Regions from separate parts of the Homo sapiens genome. Here regions 1 and 3 are each linked to region 2. Evidence: promoter capture Hi-C in 16 types of primary human blood cells and fetal thymus (Javierre and others, 2016). All regions are on one chromosome and are shown on one strand. Each heading gives the region's core, a stretch centred on a gene start or on the middle of the fragment in contact. The rest is flanking DNA. Distances are from core to core; before and after follow the strand shown. Region 1 overlaps HECTD1 (HECT domain E3 ubiquitin protein ligase 1). Region 2 holds the start of PRPF39 (pre-mRNA processing factor 39). Region 3 holds the start of CFL2 (cofilin 2).

What was found. The method cuts DNA at HindIII sites, captures the fragments that hold promoters and counts their contacts. A CHiCAGO score of 5 or more calls a contact.
Region 1: a fragment that was not itself captured here is called in contact with the fragment with the promoter of PRPF39 in region 2 in 1 of 17 cell types (total B cells); the score reaches 5.7 in total B cells.
Region 3: a contact is called between the fragment with the promoter of CFL2 here and the fragment with the promoter of PRPF39 in region 2, in 1 of 17 cell types (total B cells). The highest score is 5.2, in total B cells.

The regions. Positions count from the first base shown.
Region 1 is chr14:31,196,591-31,199,290 of GRCh38, reverse strand. The region is part of intron 2 of HECTD1 (HECT domain E3 ubiquitin protein ligase 1); the gene reads left to right. Among named protein-coding and RNA genes, the nearest start is that of HECTD1, 9.9 kb to the left of the region's middle. The HindIII fragment of the contact is 960 bases long and covers 800-1,759 here.
Region 2 is chr14:45,082,858-45,085,557 of GRCh38, reverse strand. It overlaps PRPF39 (pre-mRNA processing factor 39), which reads right to left and starts at 1,442. Exons shown (of 14, transcript NM_017922.4): 1 at 1,309-1,442. It overlaps PRPF39-DT (PRPF39 divergent transcript), which reads left to right and starts at 1,532. Exons shown (of 2, transcript NR_184211.1): 1 at 1,532-2,086; 2 at 2,171-2,510. RefSeq lists a silencer at 1,448-1,737. The HindIII fragment of the contact is 5,294 bases long and covers 1-1,764 here.
Region 3 is chr14:34,713,304-34,716,003 of GRCh38, reverse strand. It overlaps CFL2 (cofilin 2), which reads left to right and starts at 1,411. Exons shown (of 4, transcript NM_138638.5): 1 at 1,411-1,466; 2 at 2,443-2,700. The coding sequence starts at 1,464. RefSeq lists silencers at 975-1,564, 1,655-1,714. The HindIII fragment of the contact is 2,283 bases long and covers 1-1,924 here.

The DNA.
Region 1 (2,700 bases), core at 30-2,529, about 14 Mb after region 2:
ATCTCCTTAAAGTCTGCCTTAATGGAAGATAGCTGGATTCTCATATCTGCTTCTGCATTCAGTTTGTTGCATTATGTTATTTTGATTGAAATATATGAAAAAATCATCCACAGATGTATTTGGGAAAGGGAAGAAGAATATTATATTTTTTAACGTAATCATGGATATGCTTCTTTGATAACATGTCAAAATTCAACAAGTGATAGTTTCTTAAGGATTAGTTATAATGTGGATTCTGTTTTTTTTTTTTTTTTTTTCTTCGAGGCAGATTCTCGCACCCAGGTTGGAGTGTAGTGGTGCGATCTTGGCTCACTGCAACCTCCACCTCCTAGATTCAAGCAGTTCTCCCGCCTTAGCCTCCTGAGTAGCTGGGACTACAGGCGCAGACAACCACACTGGAATAATTTTTTTTATTTTTAGTATTTTATGTTGGTCAGGCTGGCCTCGAACTCCTTACCTCAAGTGATGCACCTGCCTTGGCCTCCCAAAGTACTGGATTACAGGCATGAGCCACTGCACCCTACCAGGATTAGTTATAATGTGGATTCTGATATCATATCAGTGAACTTATACTCACTCTGTTACATTAAAATCTGATGGTCTGTCTTATACTTTGAGTGACTGTTTTACCCATGTTTACTTTTGCAAAAATTATGCATTGGTCATGTGGAAAATATCAGTCCACTGAGTTACACAGATTTTCCAAATGTGGACATATCTCATTCCACAGTGCCAAAAAGTCTTATTTGTCAATATGACTACCACTCTCATCAGACAAGTTTTTAAATATTCAGAAGCTTTCAAGCTCATGGTGTCAAATACAAGTTTTCCAAAAATGTCATTTTTGCTTGTAAAGTTGAGTGTTATGATTGGCAACAAATACAGTTGATCGTTTTCCTTGAAATGAAAGGCATACGTGATTAAATTTTGAAAAAATGTTTGCCAGATAGCCAAGTCTGAATGATCAGTTTGTCTGATAGTCCTTCAAGTAAAAATGGTGTTGCAAGAAAAAAGTGGCTAGTTCAGTCCTCAAGTATGTACTTTGCCATTATTCTTCCGTATGCAGTGCTTTATAATTAATTCCCATTTCCTTTAAGTAGAATATTGAAAAGATGTATCTTCAGGGGTTGAGATTTAGTAAATTTAATAATTTTGCTTCATCTAGTTTATTCTTTAGTGAAACTGGCTTTTTTCTTAATACCAGTGCTTGGCAGTGAAGAATACAGTTATCTAGTACAGGTTAGGGCTACTGCCTTGATTCATGTTAAAGCACCTGCAGTTTTATCCACTATTGCTTTTGCATCATTAGTGCGCATGTCAACACAGGAAAGAAAGTGATTCAAGAAGAGAAAGGGCAATTGTTTTGAATACTAGTGAGAGGTCAAGTAGGGGTTAGATGAAAAGATGTCCTTTAGATTTAGCAACATTCTCAAGGTCATTGATCTTAATGAGAGCTGAGTGGAGTGGTGGTGAGGGGCAGATCTGAATGGGTTGAGGAGTGAGTGGAACATGAAATGGAGGACATGTGGAAACTTTTTTGAAGAATTGAATTGGAAAAGGAGTGTGGGGTTTTTTCTTTTAAAGGTCAAAGAGATAAGAAAGAGAGTGAATAATCCCTAGGGTAAGGATTCTGAAAAACTGGGAGAGAATTGGCTTTTGTATAGAAGCAGTGCTTCTTAAATTTTAATGTGCATAATGAGAGTCACCTGGGGATCATGTTAAAATGCATATTCTGATTCAGTTGGTCTTATATGAAGCTTGATATTCTGCATTTCTAATATGGTCCTAGATTATGCAGAAACTGTTGGTCAGAAAATCCCACCTTGAGTAGCAAAACCCTGATCCACTGGTGGAGAGATTGGTTTTAGGCAGAAAGAAGTTGTGTACTGCCGTTGTAACAGAGAAGATAGAGACGTTAGATGCACATGTTTTGGGTTTGATGGTAAAAAGTTAAGGGCTGGGACTGGGCGTGGTGGCTCATGCCTATCTGCAGTCCCAGCACTTTGGGAGGCCGAGGTGGGTGGATCAGTTGAGGTCAGGAGTTCGAGACCAGCCACGGTGCCTGGCCCTGAGTTATAGTCTTAAAAATTGATTTGCCTGTGCTACTCCCTTTTACAGAATCTGTTGGGTTCTTCACCTACAGGATCAAATTTAAATGTCTTCAAAGACCCCTCCTGCATATTCTCACATGTATACACTACTTCCACTTTACTATACTTTCAGTTCTCCACTGGACTACGAGCTCGTCTTTGTTTTCCCATTGCTAAGCATAGTGCCTGGCACACAAATAGCTAATATCCAGATACTGAAGGAGTGAATTGAAGAGATTGCTTATATTGGACCTGTTTTCCACCTAATGCCTAAAATGCCCATGGAAGGTATTTGTGGAGTTGAGAAACTTGTTGTTAGTATGCAGGAGGAAGAGTATTGTATTCTTTTTTGTTTTTTTTTTTAGCAGATACAGTATCAATAAGTACTTTCCTTACTTTCTACCATTAATATACCTGCCTTTTCTTTCTTTTTTTTTTTTTTGTTTTGAGACGGAGTCTTGCTCTGTCGTGTAGGCTGGAGTGCAGTGGCGCAATCTCGGCTCACTGTAACCTCTGCCTCCCGGGTTCAAGCAATGCTTCTGCCTTAGCCTTCTGAGTAGCTGGGACTACAGGCGCACACCACCATGCCCAGCCAATTTTTGTATTTTTT
Region 2 (2,700 bases), core at 193-2,692:
ACACTACCTTCTTCCTCCTTCGGCTATTTTTAATTTTTTTTGAAGTCCTATCTTCCATGTAGATTTGTTAAAACATACCACAGAAAACAGCACATACAATTTTTATCATTTGACTTTTAAACATCTTCTTTCTTATTCAATTATAAGCAAGGAAAAATATTCTGAGACTTTACACAAATAGTGTCTCATACCACCTATGAGCCATCTATGCTCAACCCCTACTTCAAAGTTCACAATCTAAGTACTAGTCCTCTTTAACAGAACTCCTTTCCATCACTTTATCCCTACTAGAGAGTGAACAGTGGAAAGTTCCAACTTTTGCAACTCTAGAATGAGGTTATAAATCTAGAGGGAGGAGGAAAACCTGACAGTAGACGCTTGTTCTTTTCACTCCATTCAAGCTCCCATACAGCCTAAAACACTTAAGTTTCAACATGAGCTTCATACGTCCCTGTCCAAAACTTGCTTTCTCAAGCCTCACGCTTTCCAGCTGTAGCAAAGTTTATTTCTGAACAGATTAAATCAGTTGCTAAATAATCTGAAGTCCTCAAACAGAAGGCCATATGAGTATCAAACGAAAAAAACAACATTTGAATCAGCATAAATTCACATGGTATTATGGCATCATTACTAATACACTGAGCAGTATTATTTATTAACTTCAAGTATTAATTAACTTAAAGATGTGATTTTGGAGAAAAACACCAGTGGTGGTCTCTGATTACCAAAGTTAAACATTCTTAAGCACAATCCCTTAAAAAATCCTGCCAGGATCAATGATGTGTTTTTTCTGTTTTAAAGTATCCTGCCAAAAGCTGTGGGTGCTGTGACTTAGGGTCGCAAAAGTGTTGCTTATGTAGTCAGAAGACAGAACGTGCCCTACAAGGCGCTCACATGCCTTAGTAATAGAACGTATATTATCTTCCCAATCCTCTGGCGGCTGCAAATGTGCTCCTTCCACTTCCAGCCACCCCAGCCGTGTTCCAGCTCCGGGAGAAGCAAGGGCTTTAGAATTACCCCCAAATATCTTCCTAAATCCAGGCGAAGGAGGCCCACACTTCTCCACCCTACCTAACGCACCCCTCAAGTGAAACGTTTGGTCTAAGAAAAAAATACCTTGCACCGCTCCACCCAACAGGTGGGAAGGAGAAAGGAATGGACAGCTGAGCGCTGAATCCGAGCCAGGCCTCAAACAGGGCGGGAGAGGGAGGCCGCGGCCAGAGCGCGGCCTGAAACCCGGCAGGCCCCTTTCAGTACCAAGTACCACCCTCTGCCCCAGCTAATTTCAAGGAGCCCGCCCCAGCAGACCTTATGATGGATGCCACTTGATGCCATGAGCCGGAGCCTGTGACGACCTAGCCGAAGATGGCACTTCACCGCCTCCGTCCCCACAGCCAGCACAGCAGCCGCCACCCGCGCCACGGCCGCCTGGTCCAGGGCACGATGCGCATGCGTCAGTGTCCCTGGAGGCGAAAAAGTCACGTGGGTTCGCAGCGCGCAGGCCTGGCCCTCCCAGGGATCCTCGCTGCCCGTGCGGCCCCAGCCCCGCCCCCGCAGCCCCGCCCCGCCCCGCCGCGAGCGAGGGCGGGGACCGCTGCGCCTACCTGCCTTTCCCTCCATAGGGACTTCCCAAAGGAAAGGAGGGCGTTTAGGGGCTTTCACACGCCTGATCTTAAACACAGCGCCCTGACCCCTCCCCACCAAAAACGGCAAAATGTCATTTTTGGGGGCAAATCTAAGGTTTTCCCTACAATTGTTCAAGCTTTCACACTAAAACATTTACCTAAAAACGGGCAGAAATTCAGCCTTAAACCCACAAATCTCACGATGGTATAGACCCTGGGCCCACTCAGGTTTCCTGAAAACTAAACAGTTCTGGAGTTAGGGGTTTGGAGAACGGGCTATTGTTAAAGAAAAAAGTATTTAGTGACACTTGTTAAAGCACAAAAAGAGGGCTTTATTCAGGACCATCGCAACAGGTATAGGGACCACTGACTGCAATGGAGACTTGCAGTAGGGAAAGAGATATTGGGCTCAACTCCTCATACAGCATGGGCAAGTGGAGATTTATAGCCAAGGAGCGGTGGTAAGTGAATGTATAATTACTAAGAGGAAACATCAGGGTAAGGGGGATTTTGGCTAAACCCACCTAATAGGATTTTTGCTGAAGACAGGCCAAGATAATGAGGCATCACCTGGGGGATGGTGGAGACTGAAGAACCTGATCAGATATTGAGGATGATCAGCTATCAAGGATGGGGGTTTATTGCTAATCTGACTTAGCAAAGTTCTTTGCTTAAACTGGATTTTACAAAGAAAGTGTACAGAAGAGCCTAGCAGAAGATTCAGAAACCTGACTAAAGTTGGCCAAGCAAAAAAAAAAATCTTTGTATCTGAAGGGATATGTTATCCTCTGGACAAATTGAGGGGGACTGTGCGTTAACAATCTTAGCAGTCCTCTTCAGTTGTACCACCATCTCCACTTTAATAAAAAAAAATTTTCTTTCAAATCTGGCCTCTCTCCCTTTAAGATTCTGTTACATTGGTGCCCCCGCATTCACCTGTCACTTACCATGTAATCTGTTGTTCCAGGTGCATTAGTATTACTACTGGGCTCCAAGTTCCTCATCTGAAATCTGTCTCCTCTGGAAATACTTATTTACAAGACGACGTTTCTTGTCACAACGCAGGTTAATCATA
Region 3 (2,700 bases), core at 162-2,661, about 10 Mb after region 2:
GCCCCAGTGTCATCAGACCTGGTCTCTGCTGGGGCTGCTGCAAATCTCTGAGGTTGGGAAGGGAAGGTAACCGCAAGATGAAGCGAACAGGAATTTGCTAATACCTACACATAGCAGATGATCAGAGCTCTGGAGAGACATTCTCCATGACTTCTTGGAAGTTCAACAGATAAAGTGAAAGGTTCCATAAATTGTAATGTACCAGCTAGATATAAAGTATTATCCACTTGCTTGGGATTCATGCTTAGACATTGGGAAATCCCTTCTCAATTTTTGTCTCTAAACGAAGTCTATCTTCCAATTAAGAAAACAAACCCAAGATATAGACAGAAAAATAGGTCTGTTTCAATGCCTAGCATGTTCCATTTAAAATACAGTAAATTTGGGCTGAAAGAACTTATCACGCAATCTAGGGCAAACACCATCTCATGACTTTCCTGCCTAACCTCAATCCTGAGACCACCAAAAACACACCATTTCCTACTGAACATTGATATACTCAGAAACTGAAATCTAAAGCTGGAAAGGGCCTTAACGATAATTTAATAACAGTTTGTTTTACACATGAAGAACCCTGAGGTATGGAGGAGTTAAGATTAAAAAAAGAGAAACTGCCTTGGCGCAGTTATATGGGCTTTGCTAGAAGAGGCTGCGTCGGCTTATTTGATATCAGCTGTCATAGCTGGAGCTTCATGAAATCTCTAAGAGAGAGTACAATCCATTTCCTATGAAGTCTAAAATGTAAAAGGATATTACTAAGGAATGCTACCACGTAATTTTTTAATCATAATTATTATTTCAACCAGAGTTTTGAAAAGTGATTTACCAACACTGCGTATCATTTTGTTTTTGCTAAGTACTATCAACTGGAGCAATCTCGTGTAGTATTTATTCTCATTTATCTCTAAACAACTGGGGGTTTTCCAAAAAGACTCAAAATGTCGAAATCCAGCCTCTTTCGGGAAAACCACAGGTAAATAAGGAAAGACACCTTCGCAGGAGTTCCCCTCACACGCACCCACCCCTGGCGCAGGGCCCTACGGAGGCGGTGGAAACGCCCCTCTGGGAGCCCAGCACTCTCTCCCACCGGCTTGACGGGTGATGCTCGGGGGCTGGAGGCGGCTCTGCCAGGCTCCCGGGCTCCGCTACCACCGCGTCGCCCCCCCCGGCCTGCAGGGCTCGCGCTCTGAGGTCAGGCCGAGGACGCGGACAGCCGGGGAGCCGGGGCCGCGAGACAGAAGGGCCGGCCTGGGAGCGGGTGGCGCCGGCTGGGGACCAGGCGTGCCCACGTGACCGCCCCGCCCGCTGCCTGCGGCCCGCCGAGCCCCGCCACCTCCCTCGGGCTGCAGCTCCCGGCGTGCCCCGCACTCTCCGCTGCCCACCCGCTCGCCCGCCCCTCCTTCTCCTCCCAGTGCCACAGAGCCGAAGCCCGAGCTGCCGCCGCAGCCACAGCCGAGGGCACTATGGTAAGACGAGCGCGCTGGCCGGGAGGCCGCGGCGAGGCGAGAAAAGCCCCCCGCACGGCCCCGGGAGTGAGGCCGCCATTTTAACCTGATTTTGGCCTCCAAGGTGGGCGCTTCTGCTCTGCGGCTCCGCTGCTCTCCAGCCGACCGGCCTGCCCTCCGGCCGTCAGGCCCTGCCCTGCTGCTCTTTGGATTTTGGGGGGCGGGGAGGGCCCGGGCGTCGGCGCAGGTTGGGGGTCGGGGCCGGGCGGGCGGGGGCGCGAGAGGGTCTGCGGACTGCAGCCGCTCGCGCCGCCTTTGCCCTTCGCTTCCTAATTTTACTTAACACGCGAGGCTTTAAAATTGGTACGTGCTGCGAACGCTGTGTGGGTCAGGGTCTGGACGGCCTGTAATAAAACCCTTACGGGGAGATTAAGGAAGAGGGAAAACACTTTTTAAAATGCTTTCTCGCCGTAAAAGCTTTTACACTCGATCAGTTAGTTTTGGAGTGTCTGCATGTGAGCTGTGTGTGGGCCGTGGGCGGTTTGGAGTTTACACTTGATTCTCTTTCCTTATGAGGAAACGTCAGTGGCTAGGATGACTTTAAAGAAAAAAATAGTAGAAGCATTAACTGAAATCCAAAAGTGTTTTTTTAAGGCCAGCCGAGTTGACACAATACAGAAGGTATTTTTGCTGCCACTCCTGAAGCTCTGACATCACCCAGTGAAATAGGAAACATTTCAGGGATGGGACAACTTGTATTTGTCCCTTTCGCTTCCACGTCCAAACCCCTTTAAGAAGGATGAATGGGCAGGATGAGTTAGACTCCTTCGCTGTATCGTCTACTGATTCTTAAAATGTGACAAATCTGATTGGACGACTTACATGGTACGGTGCAATTTTTGATGTCCAGACTAAAGTGAGTCTTCTCTAGGCAAACAGTAATTTTGGTTAAAACCAAAATACGTGTTCTGAATTACTGTTCTGTGTTTATTTTCAGGCTTCTGGAGTTACAGTGAATGATGAAGTCATCAAAGTTTTTAATGATATGAAAGTAAGGAAATCTTCTACACAAGAGGAGATCAAAAAGAGAAAGAAAGCAGTTCTCTTCTGTTTAAGCGATGACAAAAGACAAATAATTGTAGAGGAAGCAAAGCAGATCTTGGTGGGTGACATTGGTGATACTGTAGAGGACCCCTACACATCTTTTGTGAAGTTGCTACCTCTGAATGATTGCCGATATGCTTTGTACGATGCC